Linked DNA regions of Homo sapiens: region 1 is linked to region 2. The links are contacts of gene promoters, found by promoter capture Hi-C in blood cells and fetal thymus (Javierre and others, 2016). All regions are on one chromosome and are shown on one strand. Each heading gives the region's core, a stretch centred on a gene start or on the middle of the fragment in contact. The rest is flanking DNA. Distances are from core to core; before and after follow the strand shown.

Region 1 (6,023 bases), core at 3,276-5,775, 150 kb before region 2:
GGCAGCTCAGAGCAAAATTTTTGGCCTTCCTCCAGCAAGTATTCCCCATGGTTTTATTTTGTGTACTAGCCCTGGACTTTAATCATATTTTCCCTGCACTCCAACTTTCTCACTGTTCTTTGAAAATCTCATTGTAATGTATTTGTGTAAATTACACTCAAATCCTTTTTGGACTAAACTGGGCTGTAAATAATAAATAAATGACCAGGTGCGATGGCTCACACCTGTAATCTCAGCACTTTGGGAGGCTGAGGCAGACGGATCACTTGAGGTCAGGAGTTTGAGACAAGCCTTTCCAATATGGTGAAACCCCGTCTCAATTAAAAATACAAAAATTAGCTGGGTGTGGGGGTTCCTCCCTGTAATCCCAGCTACTTGGGAGGCTGAGGCAGGCGATCGCGTAAACCCAGGAGGCAGAGTTTGCAGTGAGCCGAGATGGCACCACTGCCCTCCAGTCTCCGCGACAGAGAAAGACTCTTTCTCAAAACAAAAACAAAAACAAAAACAAAACGCAATGAATAAATAATAAATCACAAATAATCATCAATAAATACAAAAAGTAGAAATTAAAAAGCACAAATAAATTGCAAATACAAGTTGTTTTCAAGTTCTTGGTTAACTCCATTTCACTATTAACATGTACTACTTCCCTCTCCCTTTATACAGGGATATCTGAAGCTCTCTTCTGATATTTATCAACGATAAATATGCTGGTTTTTTACCACGCAAATGAAATTAAATTAGAGAGGGTAGAACTAAGGGGGGTTTAGTTTTGTTATTAGGGCTTTCCAACATTGGGGAAAAAAAGTGACTTAAATGCAGGTCTGAAGAAGACATTGGGATTAATGTGTTTGTGTGCAAGACTAAAAAAGAGGACGAGCATGTGATGTATATTTATCCCAAAGAGGGTGGAGAAAGGTGGCATTAAACTGTTCCTAGATGACTTCTCAGCAGCTTTATTGTCCAGAGAGCTTTGTGGCTGCTCAGAGTGTACAAATGGCAATTTTTATTTTGAGTTTGTGGACGTCAGGAAACCTTTCTGCCCATTGACCCCTCATCTCTGAATCTCTAAAACCAATCTTATGTTATATAGTGGAGGTTCCTGGGGCTCAGAAGCAAGCTTCCCTACCCCCAACTCCCCGTATTTGGCTGAGACCTTCTGTCTAGTTCTGGAAACTGGATTTTTCTCCTAGTGACCTATCAGGTCACTTATAGTCCTACCTGCTTTCAACAAGCTCACCCCACAGCAGAGGTCAGGTTGTTGAATCTCAGTTTGGTGGCTTGGGCCTCTCTTTCTGCTACTGTTCTTAGATAGCACAGACCCAGGAATTCAACAGCTGGCAACCCATTCCCACCTCTGCCTGTTTTTCAGCACTCAGTGGGTACCTCTTCTTGGGCAAGTTATTCAATATCTCTGGGTCTCAGTTTCCTATCTGTAAAATGAAGATCATCTAGTACATATATCTCAGTGTTAGTATGAGGAATCAAAAGAGACAATGCAAAAAAAAAAAAAAAAAAAAGCTTAGAACAGTGCCTGGCACAAATACTAGGTGTACAGTAAACTGGGCCGTTGCTGATGATTAAGGAAGAAGCCCTTGTGTAAGCATGGAGTTTCCTCCTTAGCTGTGCTGTGCTAAGGATGGTATTAAAGGATAGCCAACAATTCCCCTTTCTAGAGCATCTGAGCAGCCAAGGTAGATTTACCCTAAAACTGTTGAAGTAAAGTTTAGGTGTCAATTTCTTTATTTGCATGGGCCTCACCTAGGGCCCAAGAGGGGCTCTAACAATGTGTCCATGGGGTTGCATATTTTTGTAAAATTTTGCATTGTTTCTTTTAAGAAGAAGGACCACCCAAATTGTATAAGCTTTCACACCTCACAAAGGCTGGCTCCATTCCGGTATCCAAGTCACATGACACCTCTGGAGCCGCCAATACATGAGGTGGGTGCTGCCAGTAGTAGATTGATAAATAGATATAGAATTATAAATATGATCATACATGTACAAAAGGATGATTTGCAACACTGAATTTTGGGCCGGGCACAGTGGCTCATGCCTGTAATCCCAGCACTTTGGGAGGCTGAGGCAGGTGGATCACGAAGTCAAGACATTGAGACCATCTTGGCCAACTTGGCGAAACTCGTCTCTACTAAAAATACAAAAATTAGCCAGGCGTGGTGGCGGGCGCCTGTAATCCCAGCTACTCAGGAGGCTGAGGCATGAGAATTGCTGGAACCTGGTAGGCAGAGGTTGCAGTGAGCCCAGATCGTGCCACTGAACTCCAGCTCTAGCGACACAGCAAGACCACGTCTCAAAATAAATAAATAAATAAATAAATAAATAAATAAATAAAATAAAACACTGAGTTTGTTACTTATTTAGATAAGCCAACTTGTTTTAAAATAAAGAATATAAATTTCCTTCTATCTTTAGAATTGAATTGGAACTTGTACAATACCCTTAATAATAATAATTTGATCTAACCCCCCAAAATGCCTCCCTCACCTTGCTGCTTAATCAAATTTCACAACATCCTGTTATTTTTGCAAATTAGTTACTGTGCAGAATATAAACTATGTCTTGGCTCCAGGCTATGTTGTCTCCTCTATTCATTCTGGTGGCTTTTTGGGCCTTACCCTACCACCAGAACTCTATACCCTATAACTGACTTCCACAGCTGAGCACACTAAGATCTGCAGAAATTGCATCCCATAGCTCAGCAAAACACATTTTGCCATGAATTTAAAATAACCTCTCAGGTAATTGTCATCTTTTTTTCAGTAAAGAAAAAATTGCCAAAATTTAGAAAAGAAATACAATAGCCAAAAAATGAAAACATTCGTTCTTAATAGAATATTTGATAGAACAAAACCTTGATGCTAAGGACCAAACGAGATGTCATCTGAGTCACCCAACATATCCATATACTTCTGCAGATGCTTCTAGTGATTCCAGGTGACCTTCTCTGTACACCTAAGGCCCCTTTTCAGACTCCAGCCCTAGCTAGGAGTCAGGCAGGGGATGGAGAAGAGGTGATTGTCGTGGTGCTAGGACCATGTCTGCTGTGGGGGTGGGAGGGTAGACACAGGAGACAGCAGTGGAGGCATCACAAGAGATCATTCTTCTGCTTTCAGGTTGGTTGTTGCCTATGCCATGCCTACTGCCCGCTCTTGTGTTGTAGACAAGGGAGTGTCTCTAACTGTGGAAGGTGGGGGCTCTCCTTTTTTGTAAAACGCTATACTTTATTCCGATATCGTGTTCTTGAAGTTACTTACAAAAGGCTAATATAGCCCTTATTTTGTTTTCTGTAATGAAAATTATTATATCAGTAATACATGCTCTTTGTAAAGAATTTGAATGATACCTCAAAAATATTTTTAGAAAGTAAGACACATGAAATCCCATCACCTTGAGAGAAATACCACTGACATTGTAGTAACCATATTTTCACACACACACACACACACACACACACAAACTATACTTGTACATGTATATACATAGAATACTATACATATATACATACTATACTATAAATATATACATAGTATGTATGTATTTATATTATATAGCTACATACATATAGTTATTTAAGATTACAAGATACAAGTGGTTTTATCATAGATATTTTCTCCTTCCCTCTCACTCCTCTCCCCCATATCCTTCATCCCCTACCCTCTGGATTACCATATTAACAGCAGGTTGTGAGTGTAGATAGGTCTAGGGATAAGTAGGAGTTAAGGAAAAAAGAACAGGTGACAGGCAGCCCAGACGAAGAGAACACCACATGCAAAGGCAAGGAAGCAAGAGCTTATTAGAGCTGTGGCTCTTGAAACTTTAATGTGCATACAGATCACCTGGGGATCTTGTTGAAATATAGATTCCGAATCAGCAGATCTGGGATGAGGCCTGAGATTATGCATTACTACAAGTTTCCAGGGAATGCCCAGGCTGATGGACCACGCTTTGAGAAGCAAGGATGTAAACTATTGTGCAGTTCAATGTAGTATCTACCAGCCACATGTGACTTTTATTTTTATCTATTTATTTATCTTAGATGTCTTGCTCTGTCACCCAGTCTGGAGTGCTGTAGTGCCATCATAGGTCACTGCAGCCTTGAATCCTGAGCTCAAGTGATCCTCTTGCCTCAGCTGCCTGAGTAGCTGGGACTACAGGCCTGTTCTGCCATGCTTGGCTAATTTTTTTTTTCTGTAGAGATGGAGTCTTGCTATATTGCGGCAGCTGGAGTGCAGTGGCTATTCACAGGCACTGTCTGAGCACACTGCAACCTCAAACTTCTGGCCTCAAGGGATCCTCCCACCTCAGACTTCTGCCCACGTAGCTGGGATTATAGGCATACCACCACCAGGCCCAGCATGACTATTTAAATTTAAATTAGTTAAAAGTAAATGAAGTTTAAGATCCAGGTCTTGTGTTGTGCTAGTCACATTTCAAGTACTCAATAGCCACATGTGGCTACCATACTGGACAGCAGAGATATAGAACATTTCCATCACTGCAGAAAGTTGTATGGGAGAGTGCTGGACAGCATTCAGGGGACTGCCATTAGTTCAGCATGGTTGGATTATAATAGGTATGTGGGAAGTGAGAGGAGGAAGTAGATAGGTGGAGGTTGGTTTTGTTTCTGGTGGCAGTAAAGAGCCATTTAACAATTTCCAATGGAGATGACAGCAGTGTGGAAGAATTCATGGGGAAGGGAACACTGGAGACAGGGAAGCTGAATGAAGGTGGAGGCTACTGCAGTGGATGATGCTGAAAGTAAATGATGGAGCTAGAACTAAAGTACAAGCAAGGGCTGGAAAGAAGAGGCAGAGTCATGGTGGTCAATAGGAAGAACTGCCCGCATGGAAGAAGATGAGGAAGTAGGAGGCTGAGAAATGGAGGAGGAGACTGAGAAAGGAAAGCATTTGCGCTAAGTCCTGGACAGCTGGGCTAAGGAATTGTTATTCTTCAAGACAGAGGACACAAAAAGGAAGTGGAGGGGTGGAAGAAGAGAATAAATTCTGGGCCAAAAGAGTGATTTTGTGGTGTCTCTGGGAAATCCAGCTGAGAATATCTGGAGGGCTGGTGGGTATTCTTCTAGGTCCCTTTATTCAACTTCCGACAGATTAAATTTGGAGAGACTGAACTCCCTCAAATTGGACAGATTGGCCAGTCGTGGTGGCTCACATCTGTAATGCCAATGCTTTGGGAGGCTGAGGTGGGAGGATCACTTAAGCCTAGGAGTTGGAGCCTGACCCGTGAGCTATGATTGTGCCACTGCACTCTAGCCTGAGTGATAGAGTAAGACCCTGTCAAAGGGAAAAGAAAGGGAGAGGGAGAGAGACGAGAGAGAGAGCAAGAAAGAGAGAGAGAGAGAAAAGAAAAGGAAGGAAGGGAGGGAGGGAGGGAAAGAAAAGAAAGAAAGAAAAGAAAGAAAGAAGGATTGATTAGACATACTAATTTCTCTAAAAAAATTAGGCCTAATAATAAACCCAATTGAAACAATTCTCTTTAAACTGCATTATAAGGATTTTTAGTACCAAATATATATTATCTTGAACCTAACTCAAAAGCAATTATAAATCAGTTTATTTTGTTCTATTGTCTCTGTATTTAATAGACATTTCTCCTCTAAGCCCAGTGAACAGTTTTACTATTTCGAATGAACTGTTTGTAAGTTCATTGAATTGAGGTATTTGGCCAGAAATGTGAAGCCTTCAGATTAAGGTGAATTTCTCTTAAATCAAACACAAATATAATTCTTTCATAATTCCTTCCCATTTTTATCCCCTGATTTGGGGAGGAGGGAAGACATTCTGCACAACTACCCCCAGCCCCTGCTAGGTTGCTGCTGAATTCCTGCATTAGTCTCTTTACTAAGGAGATTTACTTCTCTTTTCCTATATTTTCCCATGTTGCCTGACCACATGCATTGCCATAGTTAAAGGAAAGGTAATATCTCTCAGCTATCCAAAGGGACTATAAAAAGAACAGATTCCAACTAGAGATATGTTTGGAAG
Region 2 (6,399 bases), core at 3,172-5,671:
TTTCTTTTCTTTTCTTTTCTTTTTTCACCTTTTTCTTTATAAATTACCCAGTCTCAGGTATTTCTTTAGAGTAATGTAAGAACAGCCTAACATAGGTGTCAATACATACTACATAAAAGCAACGACAACAGTGGTCTTGAATATGGTCTCAAAGCAATCAATTCAAAAAGAACCTCATTATACCCTTTTATAACTGAAAGTTAAATGTCTACTGGGACATGATCTGTCCTTTTCTGGGCCTTTGTGTTGTTTGGGCTGCTAGAGAAGAGTGGAAGAAATGGTGAATTCACACTGAGTTCCTGTCTATCTGTTTCCAGTGTGTCTTCATGTACTGCCAGGACTAGAAAGGTAAACATGACATTTCCTAGACTCCCTTGCAGCTAGAGTAATAGATAAAATGAATTTCATTAATTAGATGTGCTCAGAGATTTGAAAGGCAGAAGCAAGGAGGAAAGATTCTTTCTGCTGCTTGATTGCTTTCTGCTGCCATGCACAATTGAGATATTGGGCTTCTGTGCAGCAACTTTCCAATGTCTGGTCTCTAGCTTTGTGAGTTTTGAGAGAGAATAACAGAGGCAGCCACTGTGTTCCCCTGATTATGGAAGAGGCAGCAGCTTCCTGCGTGGGCCAGTTCTGCAGTGCTGCTCTGGGAGCCATTTCTGCAGGTCCAGCCTAGAGCCTGCTACTCCAGCCCTTCCAAAGACATTGAAAGCAGGTAATTTCCTGTATTAAATCGTCTTCTGCTTAAAACCACTAAAGAGTGTCTGTTTACTGGATCTAAACAAGCAGAGTTGACAAAAGTCTCAAGAAAAAATAAAGTCTGGTTCTTGCTCAAGGCCTGGATGTTCAGAGAGGGCTGATTTGGGAGCAACTCCTGGTGATGTGGGCAGAGGAGCAGCTCATTTGGCTTCCATGCGGGCATGTTCCCATGGAAGAAGGGAGCACCAAGGCAACTTCTGGAGCTTTTCTTATCAATATGAGGGCTCCTCCACAGAAATCACCAGGGCTTTTCTCTCTGTTCACCCATCAGGAACTATCCTCCGTTCCTTTAATTCATTTTCTCAATGTGAGGCCTTTGCTATATTCACTTATGCTTTCATTTATAATCCACAACTATTTACTGAGCACCTATTGGCAAGTGCTATTCTCTTGCGAACTAACCCATCTTGCCCCCTCCTAACTCCCTGCTCCATACTCCCATGTACATGCACACACATACATGCACACTGTACACAACACACAAACTTCTCAACTCCTTCACCACCCCCTCCTTGACTGCCACAACCCAGGTTTTTAGTCCTAGTTTGTGCTTCTGTAATTCCTGAATTTTCCCTATCAAAGTGTTTTCTCACACTGTATTGAAATTGCTCATTCACTTCAGTCTCTCATGCTAAATGTAGCTGCAGGGATGGCAAAGGTTGCATTTCTTATTTGCCACTGTAGACTCAATACCTAGCATAATGTCTGGTATACACATAGCCCAGACATCCAATAAATATTTATTGAATTCATATTCTGGCATTCTAAGGGCTTCCAGGGACTGAATTGTCTGGGCTAAACCTCTTAAGATCAAAGGAAGTGCTAGAAACTCCAGATGCTGAGGTAAAATTGAACCTTGGCAAAATACTTCTTTCTTTTCTTCCCAAACCCCTCCTCATGTTTCAATTCCCCATCCTCATCTCTTTTAGCTTGACAAAAAAAAAAAAAAAAAAAAAAAAAAAGAAAAGGCTCTGTCCCTTGCAGGATATGTAACTTTGGAAGAGTTTTTTAACCCGAGACTTTGCTTTCTCACTTGTAAAATGGAAGCGTAGTGAATTACAGATGGCCACACATTCTTTGACACCATTCCCACTTAAAGATAGGATCGATGTTCCTGCCCCTTGATCTTTAATCTGGGTGGGCTCTGTGACACTTGACCAATAGAACAGAGCAGAAGTGATGCGGTGCCAATTTCCAAGTGTAGGTCTTAAGAGACTAGCAGCTTCTACTTGGTTTCTTAGAATGCTCACTCAAAGGGAAGCCCGTCACCATGTTGTGAGAGAGCCTGAGCTAGTCCCAGCTGTTCTGCCCATTCCAGCTGACACACAGACATATGAACGAAGATACCATCTTGGATGTCCAGCCTAGTTGAGCCTTCAGATGATAGCAGCCCCAGCTGCCATCTGACTGCAACAACATGAGAGACCCTAGGTAAGCACTCCCCAGCTAAGCCTAGTCAACACACAGAACTGCGAGCCACTAAAGTTTGGGGTGGTTTACTAAGCAGCAATAGATAACGGCAACTAGAAGTAATGGTAATACCTACCTCATAGGACTGTTATGAAGGTAAAATGAGATTTTTAAATGCAAAACCCCTGTGTACAACCTAGAATGAAACAAGCGCTCATTATGTATCGTCACTTCTCCTGCCTTGCCTCCTTCCTCTTTTTAACTCTATGAATGTCCCAGAAGGAGAGGTAGGTGGAGTGGAGATGGGCTATATGCTAGGTATTTGGAATTTGAATAGCTCTCTTTTCTTTTTTACATCTTTCTCTTGCTTCTCTCTTTTCTGTGTTCTTTAAAGCATAGCCAGATCATTTAGATCTAAAATAAGAACACCAAATCAAGCCTTTGCGTTGCAGACAGAAAAATCACGGGTTTTGTATGGGCTTATGGTAATGAAAATCAAGCCCAAGAAACTAAATGATTCAAAGCAAAATTCCCCTTGACAGCTTTTGTCATGTCTCTGTGTGTGTGTGTGTGTGTGTGTGTGTGTGTGTATGTTAAACTAGTACTTTAGCCTACATCATTATTTTACCATGTAAGCATGATAGAATAGCAGGCTTTTTGGAGGGGAAAGATTTTAAAAGTACATGGTTACCTGTAATTACAGTCTTGCAAAGTTTGATTTTATAGAAGTGACATTCAAGTCTGATTTAAACCATGCAGAAAGACATGGTGCATATTGGAAATGCTTTTTCTTTCTGACTCAAATGGCTGTTTCGTTCTAGTGATCTCCCTAGAAGTCAGCCTTTTATTATGTTTATTGTAAGGTTGTGTGTCTTTCTAATTACGTGGCCCATCCTAGAAAACTTGCTACCTTGAGATTACCTTTCTATTTCTCCTTGCATTCCTGCAAACACCTAAACCTCTGTAGACAAGAGGTTCATCTCAGAGTCTGAACTGGCTGAGGATCATAAAATTCTGTCAAATACCTGGTCAATTAAGTTCTGGCTGGAAGAGGGGGTCAAATTAGATGACTGACATGTGCGGATAAGGGCACTGGTTTATTTCACATTTTAGCCTTTAATGTGGGTGGGTACACAAAGCCACAGAGTTTGTTGCCATACCCCAACATAAAAGCCTCTGGGACAAGGTTGAAAGGGTAGCGGGGAGAGGGCCTTGGATAGCGGATGGGGTGGTTAACCCGCGACTCTGGTGACATTTTGCCATCAGCCGCTGGTGACATCTTGCCATCAGCTGCAGCTACAGAATGTTGCTCGCAGGAGGAATTTGGCCTGCCGTTGAAGATGTGTTTCTCAGATGAGACTGTAAGGGGCCGGAGCTTGGGATTTTAGGAGTGCAGGGCCCACCTCTTCCTTGGTATCAAGCCACTTAACTAAACTCTTGCGGTGTCTTATGACCAGGGACGAAGTGCGGGGCCCCTTCAGACGTCGCAGCTGGAGTAACTGTTTTCTTTCCATTTCACAGCTCTTGAAGGAGGTGTGACTGAGTGAGGCGCTGGAAAGCTTGTTCTATAATTACTTCTTGATCCGCTTCTAGGCGTGCTGTGCATGCGTCCGACCATGTGTGTTTGCGTTAGCTTGCGCCGTCGACAAGAGCCAGAGAACGTGGGTCTAGGATAAAACGTGGATGATATTTTTGCTTCAAATGTCACATTTTACGGGGGTCTAAAGGTCTTAGGCTGGAGTCTTTGCGGATGATTGCCAACTGTAGCTGAATCTATGAGCTGGGATGTACCCAAGCCAGTGCAATCGCTCCAAATCAGGGCGGGCGGCACTAAGCCGGGGAGCAAACACCGCTCCCGGCCCGCCCAGAGCAGACGCCCTAGGTTGGGGCTGCAGCGAGTGCGCGCGTGGGCTGTGGAGCCGGCGGAGGCAGCGGTCCGGAATGGCTCTGTGGAGGCTGCGCTCTCTTCCTGGCCCCGCAGCCACAGCAGCTGCCCCATGCTCGCGCGGCAGGACCTACCAGGCGCCCACCCTGGGCTGCGCCGCCTCGGACCACCCGCTGCTCCCCTCCGCCCGCTGCCTCTTCTCCCCGCGCCTCACGGGGCTCCGCACTGACTCCAGGCGCCTCCGGGGGCGTCGCGCGCGCGGAGCGGCGCCGGGGGCGGGGCCTCGTGTAGGGCGCCCCGGGATTGGCTGTGGGGAGAGGGGGCGGGGCCGGCCGCGGAGAAAACAGCCGGCGCGCCGCGCGAGTGCAGTCTGGGTCTGGAGCCTGAGCCCTGCGGAACCTCGGCGCTCGGCCCCACCCCGCCCGTACCTGCACTTATTTATTGTTGTTATTTCTTACCGCGGAGCCCCGCAGTCGGGTCCTCCCGCCCGCTCCCGCGCAGCGCTAGCATTCTCCAGTCCCTCAGTCCCTTCCCGCGCGGTGCGCCGCAGCCGAGGCGATGCGCCTCATTCAGAACATGTGCACCATCGCCGAGTACCCCGCGCCGGGCAACGCCGCGGCCTCCGACTGCTGTGTGGGCGCCGCCGGCCGCCGCCTGGTCAAGATCGCCGTGGTGGGCGCCAGCGGCGTGGGCAAGACCGGTGAGTCGTCGCGCTTAGCCCTGGGTCTGGTCTTGGACGACCCCTGACGGGAGTTGAGGCTGAACAAGGCGTGGGGAGCGGTGGGAGCTGCAGCCCGACCGCTCTCCGTCCCCGCGCAGGGAGCCGCTGCCCCTTGGGAGTGGGCTTAGCCGTTGTCTACGCCACCCGCCTGCTTCCACAGACGGGGGAAACAAGGATCAAGAATGGCCAGGCAGCTTTCTGGGGACCACCGGCACCGCCGCCATCAGAACTTTGGGGTGTTTGAGCCTCTGGCAATGCCTGGCACAGAAAGGGGAGTTAGTGAAGCTAGCCCCCCTGGGAGGTCTTGAAGGTTAGGAAGACATGGGTCTACTGGAAGGCTTAGGTGTGGCTCAGCCGGGCTCAGAGGAGGGGGTGGGCCCAGTGAGCCTTCCAGCTGCACAGAGCCATAATTCACGATGCCTTCTAGCCCCCTCCTTTTTGTCTGGAAAGAAGGGTCAAGGAGCTACAGGGTAGGAATTTCACTTGGTGGCCATCTATGGCTTTCTTTGGGAGAACTGTTTTCCAGGCAGGGGGTGGGGTGGAGAACAATCTAACTTCCAAGGTTAACACTTTGACGTTCTTTTTTCTGACGTGCAGCACTGGTGGTCCGGTTCCTCACCAAACGATTCATCGGTGACTATGAAAGAAATGCAGGTGAGACAATGCATTTGAGAAAAATTCTGTCCCATTGCAGGAGGACTGCGGTTCCCATTTTCCAGCGCTTCCCAGGGAGGTTCTTTCAGTGACAGTCCGAGCCTGAGGATCCCGCCACTTAAAACTTTCCCCAGTCCCCAGCCCTCCATGGCGCCCCCCTCCCATAACTACCATCTGGCCTCATTCCATTCCAAGCCCATTCATCATTTTATCAAGTGCCTGAAAGTATTCCCCTTGGTATGTTTTAACTATAGTGACCCCAGTTGGAAGCACCCTTTGTAGTCAAGAACCTCTCCCTTCAAAACACTCCTGCAAAAGTCGTAAAAAAAAAAAAAAGGAGTCCCTAGCTCCTTCCCCCACCCCTCTCCTTCTCTGCTGGCTGCCTTTCAGAGGTGACCTTTTAAAGCAAAGGCCAAAGGAGAGCAGTTGTAAACCTAAAGTTCCTCCTTCTTAACAAAGACAAACAACTGGATGGTAGAATTTTAGGAGGAGAATTCCCGAATAAATGAGAGGACACATTTTTCAATCCTTATGATTAAGAATAGCCACTGGGGAGGCTTAAGAGCTTTCTGCCTATGCTCTGTTAGCAAATTGCTTAACTCTGTAGACCATATGAGTACCTATAGGGGATTATTTGAAATGAGCTGTATAAGCTATCCCAAGATAAGACATGGCAGCCTTCTGATTTGATGTAGAGTTGATTATAATTATATCACATTTTTATTCCAACTGATAACATTGGCTGTGTGTTTACTAACAGTATTTGTCTAGCAAGCCATTATATCTAACGGCCAAAATACAAAGTTACAGTCAAAGAATGAATCAAGTACTCAAGAAAACAGAAACCTCACATAGGCTGAGCAAGATAATTTGCATCAAGGGAGTACTCTAAAAATGGAAACTTTGTTTAAAACTAGATAAATAAGTTTTCAAAAACTTGCAAACTTTGCCCTGGTTTTAATAAATCTAA

What was found. Contacts are between HindIII fragments. The CHiCAGO score rates a contact against its expected background, and 5 or more counts as called.
Region 1: a contact is called between a fragment that was not itself captured here and the fragment with the promoter of RASL11B in region 2, in 1 of 17 cell types (fetal thymus). The highest score is 6.3, in fetal thymus.

What each region holds. Positions count from the first base shown.
Region 1 is chr4:52,704,790-52,710,812 of GRCh38, forward strand. No RefSeq gene overlaps it. Among named protein-coding and RNA genes, the nearest start is that of DANCR, 4.6 kb to the right of the region's middle. The HindIII fragment of the contact is 5,324 bases long and covers 1,864-6,023 here.
Region 2 is chr4:52,857,896-52,864,294 of GRCh38, forward strand. RASL11B (RAS like family 11 member B) reads left to right here and starts at 4,422. Exons shown (of 4, transcript NM_023940.3): 1 at 4,422-4,754; 2 at 5,373-5,429. The coding sequence starts at 4,613. It overlaps LOC124900700 (a long non-coding RNA gene), which reads right to left and starts at 4,310. Exons shown (of 2, transcript XR_007058115.1): 1 at 4,189-4,310; 2 at 3,254-3,836. RefSeq lists silencers at 3,986-4,475, 4,447-4,741. The HindIII fragment of the contact is 3,261 bases long and covers 3,727-6,399 here.